Regions from separate parts of the Homo sapiens genome. Here all the other regions are linked to region 1. Evidence: promoter capture Hi-C in 16 types of primary human blood cells and fetal thymus (Javierre and others, 2016). All regions are on one chromosome and are shown on one strand. Each heading gives the region's core, a stretch centred on a gene start or on the middle of the fragment in contact. The rest is flanking DNA. Distances are from core to core; before and after follow the strand shown. Region 1 holds the start of LINC01180 (long intergenic non-protein coding RNA 1180). Region 2 has its middle 10 kb from the start of FZD2. Region 3 has its middle 6.2 kb from the start of FZD2.

Region 1 (2,967 bases), core at 306-2,805:
GAGGCAGGAGAATTGCTTGAACCCGGGAGGCAGAGGTTGCGGTGGGCTAAGATTGCGCCACTGCACTCCAGCCTGGGTGACAGAGAGAGACTCCATCTCAAAAAAAGAAAAGAAAAGAAAACAACATTAATTCTCACTTTTGAAGGGATAGCAGGAAGATGCATATTAATATTACAGCATCTTTGATAAAAACCAATCTATTTGGCCGGGCATGGTGGCTCATGCCTGTTACCCTAGCACTTTGGGAGGCTGAAGAAGGAAGATCCCTTGAGTCCAGGAGTCCGAGACCAGCCTAGGAATACAGTAAGACCTTGTCTCTACAATAAATACACAAAATTAGTGAGCATAGTGGCAGGCACCTATAGTTGCAGCTACTCTAGAGGCTGAAGTGGGAGGATCCCTTGAGTGCTGGAGGTCAAGGCTGCAGTGAGCCAAAAAAAAGACCAATGAATTCAAGTGTCTACCCCCTAACCCAAACAGAAGCAGACCCTAAATCTTTCAGGGTGTCATCCTAAGCTAAGTAGAAATCTAAAAGTTTCCTAGAGCACAGATAAGAGTGACCTAGCACTCCAGCCAACCAGAAAGGGAAAAGCAGAACATAAGCTTACTTTCTACAAAGGAAGCAGCTATACAAATTATGCCAGAGAACTAGAAAAACACTAATTTGAGTATCCAAAAGGGGGGAAGTAGTTCCAAATATTTCTAATAAAGAGCATTCTGTAAGCCTTCCAACAAGCTATTAAAGGTTGAGAAAACCTATCTGGCAACCCAGTTAATTTCAGGACACATAATTACAGGAACTTAGTCCCTCAAGTCAGAGATGCCTGTGAGGAATTGCACGGTTTGAATCACAGCAGATTTGCAGCCTATTTAAGTTTTTGGACCACTAGAAAACTGGAAAAACAATTCATTTAATATAGTTGAGAGAATACTTAAAAATCCTACATCAATTCAATTATATACTGACTTAGAATTATATGATTACTTCCTATGGAGGGTTAATTCCCTGGCATTTAGGTTGAGCCCCTACATATACCTTCAATTATCAAAAAAAAAATCAAAACTTTATTTGAACTCAAAGTTTTACTTATGAGAATAATGAAATCTTACTTAGATTAACACTCAAAACATTTCTTGGGGATAGGCTTTTTAAAATGAAACCCATAATTTATTTTTGTTACAAAAGGAAATGTTTACGTCCCTGTTAAAGTATAAAAAGGGTCTCATTAGTGTATCTGAAGAGTACTACATTGTACATTGTCTTCCAGAGGTGGAAAAAAAAAGAAGTTAACTTTTACATATACTTGAAAGGGAAAGTCTGCATTCTGCACTAAGTTTTCTTGAATGGAATAAGTTTAAATTGTCCTCAGTTCTAGCAAAGAATGTTCTTAAATATCTGTCTTTAAAAATCCAATAGTAGGGCCGGGTGAGGTGGCTCACGTCTGTAATCCCAGCATTTTGGGAGGCAGATGGATCATCTGAGGTCAGGAGTTCGAAAACAGCCCGGCCAACATGGTGAAAACAGCATGGCCAACATGGTGAAACCCTGTCTCCGTAAAAATACAAAAATTAGCTGGGCGTGGTGGCGGGTGCCTGTAATCCCAGCTACTTGGGAGGCTGAGGTAGGAGAATCACTTGAACCTGGGAGGTGGAGGTTGCTGCGAGCCGAGATTGCACCATTGCACTCCAGCCTGGGCAACAAGAGCAAAACTCTGTTTCAAGAGAAAAAAAAAATCCAATAGTAATTTCAGATTCACTTAAATATCCCCAAAATAGTAAGTGGAAAAAAAAGTTTTTTACTTGGGAAGCCGAGGCAGGCGGATCACAAGGTCAGGAGTTCAAGACCAGCCTGGCCAACATGGTGAAACCCCGTCTCTACTAAAAATAGAAAAATTAGCTGGGCCTGGTGGTGTGTGCCTGTAATCCCAGCTACTCAGAAGCCTGAGGCACGAGAATTGCTTGAATCTGGGAGACGGAAGTTGCAGTGAGCTGAGATCGTACCATTGCACTCCAGCCTGGGCAACAGAGTGAGACTCCAAAAAAAAAAAAAGAAAAGAAAAGAAAAAGAAAAAGTTTTTTTTACTTGAGGGCAGCATCATTCTGAATTGGATCAAAGTTACTGAAATGTAATTAATCTTATTGTATAAACATGTCTTTCGTCATTGTCCCTGTATAGAAACAATAAATGGAGAAAGAGGGTCAATAGTCTCTCCCTCCACAAAATTTTAAGTTCAGATCAAGGCAGAGAAGACATAAAACAATTATTTGAGTATTCCTAACTCTTTCTCACTTTAATCTGAGGTTTGTATATATGTCTGAGTAAGACTGGGAAACTAACCCCACCCAACCCTCAACACACACGTTGAAAATGAGATCTTCCAAAAGAGAATGAAAGAACTGAAAGAACTAACTACATATTATATACTTACTCTGTTCATAACCAAAATGTTTTCTTTGTTAATGTATTCACTCGAATTCAATAGAGTGTTAAATTTGCCAGTAATTTTTATTTCTACGACAAACCATATTAATACACGACAAGACAGTATGACTTCAAAAAATGAGCCAAGAACTTAAATAGGTATTTCTCCAAAGAAGATATACCAATAAGCACATGAAAAGATGGTCAACATCATTAGTCACTAGGGAAATGTAAGTCAAAACCACAATGAGATACCAATTCACATCCTCTAGGATAGCCATCTTTTTTAAAAAAAAATTTTTTTTGAGAGATGGGGTCTCTCATCTCTCATGCACGCCAGCATGGAGTGCAGTGTCATGATCACAGCGCACTGCAGCCTCAAACTCCTGGGCTTAAGGGATCCTCCCACTACAGGCTCCGGACTAGCTGGGACTACAGGAGCATGCCACTGTATCCAACTGGCTTTTTAAAAAAAAAAAAGAAGAAGAAAAAGAAGAAGAAGAAAGAAAACAAAACAAAAAGGCTGAGTGCAATGTCTCACACCT
Region 2 (2,967 bases), core at 320-2,819, 100 kb before region 1:
GGAGGGTCCCCACCCCTAATCTGATAGGATTGGTGGCCTTATAAGGGGAACAGAGAGAAACCTCTCTCTCCCCACCTACACACACCAATGATAGGCCACATGAACACTGAGAAGGTGGCCATCTACAAGCCAGGAAGGAAGCCTTCGCCAGAATCCAACCATGCTGGCATCCCGATCTCAGACTTTCAGCTTCCAGAACTATGAGAAAATAAATTTCTGTCATTTAAGCTATCCAATCTGTAGTATTTTGTTATGGAGCCCAAGCAGACTAAAACAAGCAGGAAACTAGGTGTTTGTGAAACTTGGATGGCCTGGAGGAGTAGACTTTGTCACGAAGCCACAGAAATGACCCTCCAGTAGAAGCTGCTACCTCTGCCACTAGCAGGTAGGGGGATCAAGAGGCTACCATTGGGACCGGTTGCAGTGGCTCATGCCTGTAATCCCAGCACTTTGGGAGGCCAAAGCAGGCAGATCACTTGAGGTCAGGAGTTTGAGACCAGCCTGGCCAACGTGGCAAAACCCTGTCTCTACTAAACAAACAAAAATTAGCTGGGTGTGATGGTGCACACCTGTAATCCCAGCTACTCAGGAAGCTGAGGCCTGAGAATCGCTTGAGCCCGCGAGTGGGAAGTTGCAGTGAGCCAAGTTCACACCATTGTATTCCAGCCTGGGGGACAGAGTGAAACTCTATCAAAAAAAAAAAAAAAAAAAAAAAAGGCTTCCATTGTAATTAAGCCAAGGTAACTGCACCTAGGGATCACTAGAAATTGCCACTGCAGCAAGAACATGACCTCATTTCCCTTCCACCTTCCAAATCTCAAATAAGCGTATTTTGCATCCAGAGCTCTAGCTGCAAGGGAGGCTGAGAGGTGAGGTTTTTGGCTTCCAACCTCTGCAGTATAGGAAGGTGGTGGGAATGGTGGGAGGATCTCTTGAGCCCAGGAGTTTGAGGCTGCAGCGAGCTGTGATCGTGCCACTATACTTCAGCCTGGGTGACCGAACAAGACCTCATCTGGAAGAGAAAAAAAAAAAAAAAGTAACTAGGGCTCTGAAAGCTAATTGAATGGTCTGGAGGTTTGGAAAGCAGATAGCTTTAGAGTGAACGTACGAATCACTTGGGGATGGTATATTTGGATAAGTGGGCAGGGCCCAGGAATCTATATTCCTAACAGGCAAACCCCAGTTCCCATTTCCCCTCCTGCCATAATGGACTCAGCATGTGGACTGATGCATGTGGACTCAGCTTTCAGAAACTTTATCCCTGGGCAGGAGCTCTGATGGGGCAGTCCCAGACACTACAGTGAGCAGTGAAAGGTTAGATTTGAGCAGTGAAAGGTTAGCAGTGAGCAGAAAAGGCTAGATTTGTGCTGAATTAGTCCCTTTCTCTCCTAAGAGCTAGTCCTGAAAGTTGGATGCTGAACCCTGAAAAATGCTGCTGTGATGGAGGCTCAGGAGAAGGGGGGGGTCTGCCTAGAACCCAGGAGTCCAGGGATTTAAACTCACCACCCCACCAAGGAGGACTGGATGGAGTCAGCTGACAACATGAATAAGCATTTCCTGAAGTTATGACTCATTTTGTTCTGAATTTCTACCCTGGCCCCGGGGGTTTAGGACCTTCGGGATCCTATTTCTATTGCAGGGGTTTGGTTAGAGAGCCCCTTCAACCTTGAGGGGTTTAAGAATTGGACAGAGGAGAAGAAAAGTAAAACAGAGGGTACAAGAGAGGAAGGGAGGAGAAAGGTAGCACTTCCACCCAAAATGGCCTCAAGTCCCTACCAGAACCCAATGTCCTCCATAGCTCACATTGAATTTCAACACAAAATAGTCTATTACAATAGATGTTCCTTTTTCCTTCTCAGTCATTTTCTTTTCTTGGCTCTTACCAGGCAGCCTTGGACCCTAAGCCCCCCAGTTCTGAGGGGAAGGCCATAGATAAATGAAAAAGCCCTGGCCTTCTTCCTCTGTGCCCCCATCCCAGCCCCACATCTCAGGGAGGGGGTCGCCCCAAGCCAGAGCAGGGCTGAGTCTGCCTGGGCCAGGCTGCCTGGCCAATAGGCTTTCCTCCTTCCCAGGGGTATCCATTCTCCTACCCAGTTCCTGAGATGCTGGGCCCCCTTCAGCCGCATCTGCAGCCTGACTGAGCAGAGTCCCCCAGGCCTTCTTCCTCTAGGCTGGTCCTCCCAGGTTAAGAGCAGGCTTCCATGTTGGAAGGGGGTCCGTCCCCCCTTCCCCCAGTTATCACCACAAAGCAAAGTCCAGGGAAGGAGGGGGAGTGGGCAAGGGTGGGGGTAGTGGGAGAGCCAGGTCCTTGCTAGTAAATCAAAGTTGGTTTCCCAGATGGAGTTGCAGCCGCTTTGATTTCTCAAGTCACCCCCCTCCCCCTCTGCTGCCTCCCCTCACCCCCAGCTCCACAGTTTCAATTCCTCCCTGAAAAGCAGCAGGGCCTCCTTTCAAACCAGCCCAGCTCCTCCAACTCCCAACAACAGCTTCAGTTACAGGAAAGGGGAAGGGGAGGGGGTGAGGTGGCCCAGCCTAGAGAGAAAGGAGAGACATTCTGGGAGAAGCAAGAGGGAGAAGGAGGAGTAGAAAATGAGGAAGGGGGAAAAGAAAGAGCAGAGTGAGAAGATGGGAGGGGGGCAGCCAGGGTGGAAGAGTGGGGCTCTGCTGGAGCAGGAGGGGAGCTCCAGCTGGGAAGCCAACCTACCTTTTCCTCCCTCCCAAGGGAGCACCCCCACACCCATCACCCCAAGGACCCCTCCATAGCTACAGAGCTATGATTCAGGCTTCCCTATTCCTCTCCCCTTGGCATTAGGTTCTAGAAGGTTCTGGAAGACAAAATATCGAAACCGTTCATTCCTAGGGACATTTATTTCCTGTTCTAGAAGGCAGAGTCACCCAAGAACCTCACTAGCCAAACCTAGCACTGGCTTTCTAGATCCTGTTTCCCCATTTGGCTCTGAGCAGCCC
Region 3 (2,967 bases), core at 177-2,676, 87 kb before region 1:
ATTGTTGTGGGGGAACCCTCCTCTCCACACCCTTGTCCTGTTTCTTAAATGAAACACTCTTAGAGGAAGGGAAGCTTTAGACCACAGTTTGGGGAATTTGGGGTAAAGAGGAGAAAGCACCCTGGAGGAAGACTCAGAGGTAAACCACCTGAACTCACTGCCTCACGGGAGAGGGCACCTCAGCTCCCTTGTTCAGAAAACCCAGTTAAAAACAGGAGCTTAGAGATCTGCTTTTGGAGATTTCTAGGTCGTCCTTTGAGCAGAAAAGGGTTTCCATGTTGTAAGTGGGCTGGTCCCTCCCTCTGGAAGAGCGAGGCTTTGTGTTTGCTGGAGGGTCAGGGCCAAGAAGGAAATACACTCACCTGTGGCACCTGGGCCTGGGGCAGGTCTCAGGCCCACGCTGCTTTCTGCCTGCTCTTCTGCCCTCCCCCAGGGCAATGGTCTGGGGTTTCAAGGTCCCAGGCATTTCTCCTCCAGACTCCCCCCTCTTATTGATCAGGCTTTCCCTCCTCCCAGCCCAGACTTCCCTCCAGAAGACTTTAACGTTAGTTCCAAACTTTTTGCCCTTTAAGATTTTTTGAAGAGCTAGCTCTAGAAAAAGGCCACTAAAGTTTCTCAAGACAAAATTCTTCTGAACATCCCCAAAGAATTAAGATTAGGTTCAGCCCAGTGGGATGGGGAACTGCTTTTTGTTCCAAAATCTCTTCAGGAGGGTGGGGAGATGCTGTCCCGGGGGTGCCTGCCATGGGGTCTGAGCCGGGCGAGCCCTCCCTTCTGCAGTCTTGCTACTCACTGTACCAGGGTCCCTCCTCCTCTAGAATCACTCTTCTTACCTTAAATGGATCTTAAACTTCTGGGGGCCACTGACCATCTGAGAATCTCAAAACTCTTTGGACCTCTTCCTGGAAAAAAAAAATAGCCAGATCCCCCATGAATATGCAATTGTGTGTAGCTTTAGGAAGTTTCTAGATCATCCCTCCCTGACCTCTCTCCCTACCCGCCTGCCCCCAAACTAGTTTTCGAGTCGCTGGTCTAGACATTTTTTTTTTTTTTTTTTGAGACTGAGTCTCACTCTGTCGCCCAGGCTGGAGTGTAGTGGCGCGATCTCAGCTCACTGCAATCTCCGCCTCCCGAGTTCAAGCAATTCTCCTGCCTCAACCTCCTGAGTAGCTGGGATTACAGGTGTGCATCACCACACCTGGCTAATTTTTGTATTTTTAGTAGAGATGGGGTTTCACCACGATGGCCAGGCTGGTCTCAAACTCCTGACCTCAGGTGATCCTCCCGCCTCGGCCTCCCAAAGTACTGGAATTACAGGCATGAGCCGCCGTGCCTGGCCTGTCTAGACATTTTCTAGTCCTGATTACTAGCTACCTCTCCTTCTCTAAAGGACAGCCCTTACCTTCTCAGACTCCAGTATCCCCCGGTCTCTAATCACCTCTGCTATGGAAAGGGGGTGGGGGTGAGGAGGGAAAGCCACTGGGCCTACAAAACCAGGAGTACCCCGGAACCAGATTATTCACTCAGTTCAATCCTGCCCCTTGATCAGGTAACAAGTGATCAAGATGCAGCAGAGTGGAATATGGATGAATGAAATTTGTAGTTGGGAAAAACGGAGAGAGAGACAGACAATGTATGGCGAGCAGAGGCTTTGACATGCTTTGGTACCACTCACTGCAGTAGTAGCTGTGAGCACTTGTGGCATTTTTCTAACCTCTGAGCGTGTGTCCTCATCTATAAAAAGGCTGATAGTACCTGTCTGGTAACATGAGTAGTAGACGGGACCATACATCTACAGAGCCCTCAGGCAGTAGTTCAATAAATTGTAGCACTTTTCCAATTACTTAGAATACATTTATTTATTTATTTATTTTGAGACGGAGTCTGGCTCTGTCGCCCAGGCTGGAGTGCGGTGGCGCGATCTCGGCTCACTGCAAGCTCCGCCTCCCGGGTTCACGCCATTCTCCTGCCTCAGCCTCTGGAGTAGCTGGGACTACAGGCGCCCGCCACCACGCCTGGCTAGTTTTTTTTGTTTTGTTTTGTATTTTTAGTAGAGATGTGGTTTCCCCGGGTTAGCCAGGATGGTCTCGATCTCCTGACCTCGTGATCCGCCCGCCTTGGCCTCCCAAAGTGCTGGGATTACAGGTGTGAGCCACCGCGCCTGGCCCCCACTTAGAATACATTTCCAAAAATAAAATCAGTGGATCAAAAGATCTAATTTCTTGACAAGAGAAGTGTTACCAATAGTTTTTAAACTGTTCCCTATCATTTAAAAGGACCACAGTCTTCCCTTCCCAGCACTTCCCTATCATTTCCTCCGTGTGAAGAGGTACATCTAACTGCCCTTAGAATATGGACGATGACTGGTCTTAGCTGCTTCATGCTGATAGGGGGCATTGTTTTGGGGAAAACAGCAGTCAGACTCCTCCTAGAGGTCTATCTAAGGGTTCCTAGGAAAGGGGAGCCATCATCCGAGGCTCCGATTGCCTGACCGTTTGCAGTTTGGTGGCTTCTAGGCGCAAGAGAATAAAACAAGTTTTATAAGGTTAAGTGTGCATAAATTAAACGTGTATTATACAAGGAAAGAATTTAGTGCCAAAGATTCCAGAGACAAGAAGTAAAATATACTAACAACATTGTACCCTGAGCTGTAAGAAATTAAACCTTATATAGGAGCAGTTCAACTTGAGAAGAGATAACTGTTCTTGCCATATCTTTTAGCAGTTAACAGGTGCACCCTGGGAATTCTGGGATTTGTGGACTTGCACGATGGCCATTAAAGCTTTTGCCTCTTTCCTGTATCTCCTCTCTCTTTCCTGGGCCTCCCAGTCTCTATTATAAAAGACCAAGGTGGCTACTTTCAGGAGTTTCTTCAAAGTACTATCTGGTCCCGGGGCCTGTTTTTGTATCTTCCTTCTGATGTCAGGAGCTGCCCAAGTAATAAATTGATCCTTTAGAATTAGTTGT

Evidence for each region. Contacts are between HindIII fragments. The CHiCAGO score rates a contact against its expected background, and 5 or more counts as called.
Region 2: a contact is called between a fragment that was not itself captured here and the fragment with the promoter of LINC01180 in region 1, in 1 of 17 cell types (megakaryocytes). The highest score is 6.1, in megakaryocytes.
Region 3: a contact is called between a fragment that was not itself captured here and the fragment with the promoter of LINC01180 in region 1, in 1 of 17 cell types (endothelial precursors). The highest score is 6.3, in endothelial precursors.

The regions. Positions count from the first base shown.
Region 1 is chr17:44,648,794-44,651,760 of GRCh38, forward strand. LINC01180 (long intergenic non-protein coding RNA 1180) reads right to left here and starts at 1,556. Exons shown (of 3, transcript NR_110661.1): 1 at 1-1,556. The HindIII fragment of the contact is 9,700 bases long and covers 602-2,967 here.
Region 2 is chr17:44,545,661-44,548,627 of GRCh38, forward strand. No RefSeq gene overlaps it. Among named protein-coding and RNA genes, the nearest start is that of FZD2, 10 kb to the right of the region's middle. RefSeq lists an enhancer at 2,403-2,950. The HindIII fragment of the contact is 7,724 bases long and covers 1-2,967 here.
Region 3 is chr17:44,562,226-44,565,192 of GRCh38, forward strand. No RefSeq gene overlaps it. Among named protein-coding and RNA genes, the nearest start is that of FZD2, 6.2 kb to the left of the region's middle. The HindIII fragment of the contact is 2,708 bases long and covers 73-2,780 here.